Linked DNA regions of Homo sapiens: regions 1 and 3 are each linked to region 2. Evidence: promoter capture Hi-C in 16 types of primary human blood cells and fetal thymus (Javierre and others, 2016). All regions are on one chromosome and are shown on one strand. Each heading gives the region's core, a stretch centred on a gene start or on the middle of the fragment in contact. The rest is flanking DNA. Distances are from core to core; before and after follow the strand shown.

Region 1 (2,700 bases), core at 65-2,564, 290 kb before region 2:
GTATGCAGAGTTAATATGATTAAATGTTTTCCAGAGACATGAAAAGAAAGCCTTCCAAATTTATTAGGATCCCTTTATATGTGGATTGGTTATGTGGCACTTTTAAAACTCATTAGAAACCAGTCACTACTTGAAATGTTCTCAGAAAATCACAGAGAAGTCGGGTTTACAGATTTAGTGAAGTCGTGAATAATTTCCAACTTAGAATGAAATATGCCATTGGGAAAAAAGGGAACTAAATGACATGAGGATTAAAAATAAAAAGGAGTTTGTTAGATTTGAGTTTGAATATCAAAAAGCTTCCAAAACCTAGTCTTTAGATATTTATTAAAAGGACCTTTTAATAAAAGCATTCTTGAGAATACCATTACCTTGGAGTCCCCCATGTCTTATATAATATTCTACTTTCAACAATATAGTAAACAAATGTCTTAAAGCTTCTTGTAATGCAAACATCTTTCAACCCTATCGGGAACTTCCTCAGCCATGCATAGTTTATTTGAAATCCAAAGGTTCATCTGGTTCTGCTAGACTAAAATTAGATTATTAAAACCAGAATTTTATACTCACCCGAGCCTCCTTTTGCCAAGTATTTGTTCTTTGCATAAAGGACAGAATCTAACATAGACTCAAACAGAAGAAAATAGCCCTGCATAAAAAAAGGGGAAAAAAAGAGTTTAGAAATGTGCAATACTCTCATAAGCAGGTCAATTTAAACATCGGTGCTACTCTTTTAATTACAGAATATTTTTTTTTCTGCCACAGATGTAATAATATTCTGCAAAATCTGAAACTTTTTTTTGCAGTAAGTTATTGGAAAATCAGGCCAGCTTATAAAGTGAACCCAGAAAGTTTATTGTGGTAAAATATACTGCATTTTCTTTATCTATGATTCTACTTTCCAGACTACTCTTTCTTCCTCATTAAAAAATGTTTGGATAGACATTATTAACAAGCCCTATAACTCCCTGGAATGATGCAATATCCATCTAGAGCAGTGGTTCTCCACTTGATTTTGCCTGCTGGGGAACACGTGGCAATGTCTGAGTAATTTTTGATTGTTGCAACTGGGGGTGGGGGATGAACGAGATGCTACTGGCATCTACTGTGTAGAGCCAAGGTATGTTGGTAAACATCCTTCAATGCACAGGACAGCTTCTTACAAGAAAGAATGGCCTGGCCCAAAATGTCAATAGCACTAAGGTTGAGAAACTCTAGTCTAGAAAACCACTTCCCAAATAATTTCCTGTCTAGTGACTTTCTTTTTGGTATTAAAAAAAAAAACAAAAAAGAAAGTGGAGGGATCCTTAGTCAAAAAGGTTTAAGAAACGCCAGCTGCCATATCCTCCTATTAGAGATTCATAATGTGCATGAGCACACTAAAAGTTCTGAGTAGTTCTCATGGTAAAGAGAACTGCTGAACATATTTTAACCAAGTATTACCCACTTTCTGACTACAGACCTTTTTTTTTTCTATTTAACATCTATCAACACCTTGCAGAACTAGTGTTCATGGAAATAAAATTCATGAAACATGATCCTGGTGTACTACCGATTTTAGAGTATGATAATGAATCCTCTACCAAGAAAGGGTAAATAATACAGTACAAATGAAAAAAGAATTTGCCACTACTGGTGTCACAAATACGCTACATTCCAATACTGTGCTTCACAGTTTATTATACAAATGACAAATAATCATGACTGAGAAATCACTATCAGTTTCAGTCAGTCTTTCTCCTTCTAGGGTCCAACCCCCCAACAGCCCTATGCAGCAGGGAAAGCCAAGTGCTCAGCACATAGTACATCTTATTGCTCAGGGTGAACCAACATTAATTTTACCTTTACTTTAGCATTCTATATCAAAACTGTTCTCATCCACTCATTTGTTTTGTTCACAAATAAATGATCAGTGGGGTAAGTATAATATTCTTTAACCACATTAAAAAAACATTTTAAAGGTTTCTCTAGAACAAGAAAAACCTGCAAACCCAGAATGGATAATCTTCACAAGAGATTAACAGCAATTTTAATTTATAGAAAATACAGCTCTCATGCTTGAATCACTTATAAAGGAACTGAACTGAATTGCCGGCAACTCTACGTCGGTATTGACCTATTCCCCCCAGCTCACTGATTCATTGATACAAAAATAACTGCCTATTAAACAGAGGCTTAGGAACAAAGCTTGTTTATCAATATGTTACATTAGGAAAATTAAGGATTTGACAGAAACATGTTTTTCTGGATAGAGTACTTCAGTAATATGTAAAATTCTTACAAGTTAGTTCCCCATTAATATTATCTATGTATTCAAAGAACAAGGGACTTATGGGATTCAACTAAGAAATCTTTACCAATCTGACATATTCACGCAGATTTCACACACAAATGCTTATAAATAGGCATTCAACTGTTGCTTATAGTGAATTATAATTTATGCCAAGGAATTATTAAATGGAAGGCATCTATCTTACGAAGAAAAGATTGGCTGGTAAAACATAATAGATTTGGTGAAAAAAATGGTCCCTATCTGCAAGACTGCTGTGTTTCAAAACTGAAAATAAAATAAATAAAATTAACACTTTAGTACAAATTAAGTATTCACTACATTCCAATCCTTTTTGGACAAAGGCCCAAAAAAGTTTGTATTGATTTGTCATTGTCAAATTGTTTTCTAGTATTCTATCTTTCAGCTCA
Region 2 (2,838 bases), core at 28-2,527:
GTACCACCTCAGCCCCAACCAGAGGAAAGCGAAGGGACTGTCTCCAGGAAGATTCTCCTTTGAAGCCCCACATTCAGGGGAGGCTTTCCCGGAGTGGACCAACATTCTTGGGAACCGCATCCCTTCCCTCTGGTTTTCACGCGTTTGTGCGTTGTAGTTAATTAAGAAGCTGCCAAACCTTGGGCCAAGTTAAGGGCCCCGCAAGTGGTAGGGTTCTCTCCAGACGACGTCTGGACCTTCGCTGCTATGGCTTAAAATGTCAGGGCTGTGAGTTTCAACTTAAACTGCCGAGAGCTCCCTGTGTTTGGAGAACGGCCAGCATAGCACTCACAGCCTTTGGATACCCTTGCCCGAGGCAGTTTCCGGTCAGCCTAAGCTCTTTGCAAGCGGAATCCTGCCGCTCGGCAGCCCAGCGCCGCTCTCCTCCGCTCCTCCCGCAAGGTGAGGTGCGGACAGCCCCTTGCAGAAACTCCTAGAGAAAATCGTTTTCCAAGTTGCTGGGAATTTGAAGGAGACTCGTTTTACTTTTCAGGTATCCACCAACGCTCAAACTCAACCAGTCTCCCGAAATGAAATAACTCCAGACCTCTCCCCACTCTTACGGACACACATCCAGTGGCCCCAAAGCATCCGTTTCCAAGTTTCCCTGAGTCGTCAGAATGGGACTTCTAACACTGATTTCACTCACCCCTACATTTGCTTTATGCTTCAGCTGGAGTAACGGATAGGGCTAGAGACCGGAAAGGGAGTATATTTTCATGTCCACTGACTTGAAACTTTTCATTGCCCTACCCCCACAAGAGGGAGGGCAACTTTGCTGATAGCCTGAAGATGTATTTCTATGAATATTTATTGATTTATTTTCCAGGCTTAGCAGGGGAGCTGCAAATAAATTTAGTGGGTTCTTTAAATAATTCCTTTTCTATGAGGCAAGATGTCATCTGAAACTTCTAAATAGGCATTTAATTAGCCCGGGTGTTGCTTCGGAACAAAAACCTTTGGCGAGAGCTTTGGGGGCGCACTGTATTGCAAAGAGGCGGTCGATATGCAAAATTGATGCGCGCGGGCCTTTGTTGCCGGCCCATTGTGCGGGCCATGCTTATGAAGACTAATCCAATCATAAATTGCACCCCTGCGCCAATCAGAGAGTCCAGAGCCTCCGGCGAATGAAGCTCGAGTGGAGAACTTTGTTGAACTTCATTGTCAGAGCTGTCACTTTTCAAAGTGCTTTAGCGGGCGGGCCACTATAAAACCATCACCTCGACGAGAGGACCACGGAGGACTCGCAGACGCCCAAGTGGGATTGTTACTTGGAGACGTTTGCTAAGCCCAAGAGAGAGGACACTGTGGGGGCGGGAGGGGCGGGAAGCGAGGCGTTTACCCTCCGGCCACTGAAAGAAGGGTTATTTCGCCCGCCCGCGCCTACCATGATGTTCCCCGGCCTCCTCGCGCCCCCCGCCGGGTACCCTAGCCTCCTGCGGCCCACGCCCACCTTGACGCTGCCCCAGTCCTTGCAGTCGGCATTTTCCGGCCACTCCAGCTTCCTGGTGGAGGATCTGATCCGCATCAGCCGACCCCCCGCCTACCTGCCCCGCAGCGTGCCCACCGCCAGCATGTCGCCGCCCAGGCAGGGGGCCCCCACGGCCCTCACCGACACGGGGGCCTCGGACCTGGGCTCCCCGGGTCCCGGCAGCCGACGGGGCGGCTCTCCGCCGACTGCCTTCTCCCCTGCCAGCGAGACGACGTTTCTGAAGTTTGGAGTGAACGCCATCCTCTCCTCGGGGCCCAGAACAGGTAAGCGAGGTCAGAACCCTAAGGGCCCATTCAGGTACTAGGCATGCGCGGAGTCATCCTGGCCTCAGTTTCCTCTAGCGAGCGGGCCCCCACACACACATCGGTGCACACACAATACGCACGAACTCTGAGACCCTACGTCAGGCAATGTGAGAATAGTCCAGTCAATTCCGGGGAAGAAAAGCCTCCAGGCTCGCCCCATCCTCGGAGTGAACTTGAGCACACGCAGTCGGAGACTGTGCGCAGTCATCTGGTGCAGTAACGCTGAGCGCACGCTCCTGGACGTCTGCGTTTCTGCCTTCGAGCTTCTAGGAGACAGTTTTTTTTTTTAAACTCAATATGATATATTTATTGGATTAGCAAATATTATAAATCTGCAATTTCTTTCCTCCCCACTCAGTCCTATCTCGTTAGTGCCTAGGATGGAGATTGGGGTAGAGTGGGACGGCGCAGAGAATTACGTTGGGGAGAAAGAAAAGAGTTTTACAGATAAGACAATGTTGGGAAGATTTATTTTACCCTGTCAACGTATAAGAAAGATGTCTTTGAAACCAGATGAAGGGCTAATTATATCGTGTGTTCAGTGTGCTATACAATAGGCAAGTACGTAATCAGATTCTTTCTGTCTCCCTCTCTCCTTCTGTCCCCCCTCCATCGCCCACCAGAAACATCCCCAGCCTTGCTCCAGAGCGTCCCTCCCAAGACCTTCGCCTTTCCCTACTTCGAAGGGTCTTTTCAGCCTTTCATCAGATCTTCTTATTTCCCAGGTAGGTCTCGTCCCCCTTCTTTGCGCGAGGCAGGGCGGCGCCCCAGCCCCGGCCCATCGCTCCCTGCTCCGAAGCCGTATTTCTCCGTCCACCCCTCGGGGTTATGCTCTGGTTCAGAGGTTGCGAGGCGTATAACATTCATGAATCCGTCGCGCCAATTTGATGCCCTATTGAGCACAAGCAGTGACTGCTTGACACTTTGCACCAATTCCCTGCTCTACAAATTAGCAGGAATTGTCATGGTCCCAATTTGAGGCGGTTCCCTTCCCGGCGAGGA
Region 3 (2,870 bases), core at 18-2,517, 450 kb before region 2:
TCAAACACCTACAGAAGCCAGGATGATGACACAAATGAGGAAGGCATAAAATTAGAAAATAATAGAGAGAGGTGGGGACTGTGGCCAACCAGAGAGCACTCCAGCCAATCAGTGCCAAGCTTTTCCAGATGTTGTGGCAAAAGATGCAGAAAATCTATAAACTTACATGAAATATCTCCATTTAAAAATATTGAATGTGTTAAAATTGTCTTTAAATACCAGGAGCAACAATAACAAAAAGTGGCTGGGCAGGGTGGCTCACACCTATAATCCCAACAGTTTGGGAAGCCAAGGCAGGAGGATGGCTTGAGCCCAAGACTTCAAGACCAGCCTAGGCAACATAACAAGACCCCTATCTGTACCAAACATTTTAAAAATTAGCCAGGTGCAGTACTGCACATCTATAGTCCTAACTACTCAGGAGGCTGAGGGAGGAGGATTGCTTAAGCCCAGGAGTTCAAGGTTGCAGTGAGCTGTGATTGCACCACTGCACTCCAGCCCGGGCAACAGAATGAGACCCTTTCTCTAAAATAAATAAATAATTTTAAGAAGCAGGCTTGATCTGGTGCATGGACTCCCATTTTATGTTCTCTGTGGAAGAGCATAGAGGGCAAGAATGTGAGTTCAGGCGTTCCACTACTCCCGAGAGCTTGAATGAGTTCCATTTGTCCAAGCCTCCATTTTCTGGTCATAGTTGTTCAGGGTTGCAGTAAGGACTAAATGAAGAGAGATCACAAATTAAAAATCTTCCCACAATGCCTGGCACACAGCTGGCACTCAATAAATTTTAGCCATAACTCAATCATCATTGTTATAGCTTTTTCTGGAGAGAGTATCTCTAGTCTTCAGCATCATCTCCCGTAAGGCCACTTGCCTGCCATAAATTGCCTACCACTTCCCATACACACCGCAGAGTTTCTTAGAATGTTGGGTAAAAATGGAAACAATAATAAGAATCCCTTCCCTTTCAGTAGTTCTTTAGACCAAGGTTTCTCAATAGCTGTACTAATGGCATTTGGGGTCAGATAAAGTAACCGCAATAGGTCCATTGCCCAACAGGCACAGTGAGTCAATACTTCACCAAGACCCTGCGTTGCAGCAGAGAAAGAGGTTTAATTAAGAGAAGAGGACCTTTTTTAAGTCACCCCAGAATTCCAAAGGACCAATACCCCTGCAAGGGACAGCCTGGGCCCAGGAACAGAACACGCTCATGTGCTGATAACACAGAGAATGACAGATGGAGGGGCTGCACAAAGAAAGAGTGGGGATTGACACCTTGTTTTTTTTTTTTTTTCACCAAAATAAATAAACAAATAAACCACTGGGTAAGAATGAGATAGGATCTGCTCAGCCTGGTCATTTACTCGCAGGAAGCAAATAGAGTTTCCTGCGTTGCAGCAGAGAAAGAGGTTTAATCATAAGAGCCACTGAACAAGGAGATAGGAGGAAACCTCAAATCCATCTCCCCAAAGAGTTTGGAGCTAGGGTTTTGGAGTAGGTTGAAGAGTGCAGGGTGAAGTCCTGGGACAGAGAGATGAAGAAAAGCATTCTCACACTGATTCAGTTCCTCTGTGGGAACCTTTTTTCATTTGTTTGTTTTTTGTTTTTTGAGACAGTCTCACTGTGTCACCCAGGCTAGGGTGCAGTGGCACAATCTCTGCTCACTGCAACCTCTACCTCCAGGGTTCAAGTGATTCTCATGTCTCAGCCTCCAAAGTAGCTGGGATTACAGGTGTGTGCCAACACTTCCAGCTAATTCTTGTATTTTTAGTAGAGACAGGGTTTTGCCGTGTTGCCCAGGATGGTCTCCAACTCCTGGCCTCAAGTGATCCATCCACCTTGGCTTCCCAAGGTGCTGGGATTACAGGCATGAGCCCCTGCTTAAAGCTGGTAGGAGTCTTTAAACTGGTTGGCATCAGCTGTTTTGCTGGAATTCGGGATCTGCTTAAGCAATTCTTAAACAAAAGCCTTATGATTCTAGCATCAGAAATCTCATCTATAGGAACAATGGGGATGCAAATGTACGTAGTGTTACTCAATTTTTGGTTTCAAGGAAGTGAGTCAAAAGCACAGCCTGATTAATGCTGATTATAACAATACTTCTGTCTAGAATTCTTGTTAACCCTGCAAGGACAGCTTTAGTAATTCTTGGCTGTGGGACCGTCCTGTGCATTGCAGGATATTTAGCAGAATCCCTGGCCTCCACCTACTAAATGCCAGGAGCCCACCCAGCTGCAACAACTAAAAACGTCTCTGAACGTTGCCAAATGTCCCCTGCAAAATCTCCCCTGGTTGAGAATCTCCACTTCAGGGCCTAAAAATATCTTCCTATTCAAAGTATCTTCTTTAATCAAATAACAGAGTTTCAGGAGGATTCCCACCTAATCATTATCAAATATTTACCAGGAAAGCTTTTGTTTCCCCCAGCAGTGACATAAATGAAGACAATTAAAGAACACTCCATATCTCTGTTCTGTAAATAAGCACATAAGTTATTTCTAGCCCTCCTGCCAAACATTACGTCCACCCAAGACGGGAGAGATCACTAACACGAGGGCAAACACCAAATCTCTCGATTCCCAAGTTGCAATTGTGAAGCACGCAGGCAGCCTCACTAGAGAGCGTCTCTGGATGTCTGTAGATCACTGCCGCCGCAGCAGCACAAGGTCACCGTTCCTGCAGCAATGCAGCAGGGTTCCCAGGCTCCCCGCTCGCTCGCTCCGCAGCCCCAAGCCTCCTGCAATATCCCCTCCCACCACCGGGCGGCAGGAGCATGCTTCCCAGCGCCCGGAGCCTTCGGGTCCACCCGCGAGGGAATGATGGGCCATCTCATCAGAGAGCTCTGCGGCCCAGCAACCCCGAACAAAGAA

The links. The method cuts DNA at HindIII sites, captures the fragments that hold promoters and counts their contacts. A CHiCAGO score of 5 or more calls a contact.
Region 1: a fragment that was not itself captured here is called in contact with the fragment with the promoter of DBX1 in region 2 in 1 of 17 cell types (fetal thymus); the score reaches 5.6 in fetal thymus.
Region 3: a fragment that was not itself captured here is called in contact with the fragment with the promoter of DBX1 in region 2 in 2 of 17 cell types (fetal thymus and megakaryocytes); the score reaches 6.1 in fetal thymus.

Annotation. Positions count from the first base shown.
Region 1 is chr11:20,450,079-20,452,778 of GRCh38, reverse strand. PRMT3 (protein arginine methyltransferase 3) reads right to left here. Exons shown (of 16, transcript NM_005788.4): 11 at 571-649. Among named protein-coding and RNA genes, the nearest start is that of PRMT3, 64 kb to the right of the region's middle. RefSeq lists an enhancer at 2,124-2,293. The HindIII fragment of the contact is 1,750 bases long and covers 440-2,189 here.
Region 2 is chr11:20,158,914-20,161,751 of GRCh38, reverse strand. DBX1 (developing brain homeobox 1) reads left to right here and starts at 1,277. Exons shown (of 4, transcript NM_001029865.4): 1 at 1,277-1,794; 2 at 2,460-2,561. The coding sequence starts at 1,428. RefSeq lists enhancers at 1-395, 396-897. The HindIII fragment of the contact is 3,864 bases long and covers 1-2,838 here.
Region 3 is chr11:20,610,192-20,613,061 of GRCh38, reverse strand. All of the region lies in intron 5 of SLC6A5 (solute carrier family 6 member 5), which reads right to left. Among named protein-coding and RNA genes, the nearest start is that of SLC6A5, 12 kb to the right of the region's middle. RefSeq lists an enhancer at 2,583-2,652 and a silencer at 2,631-2,828. The HindIII fragment of the contact is 2,292 bases long and covers 122-2,413 here.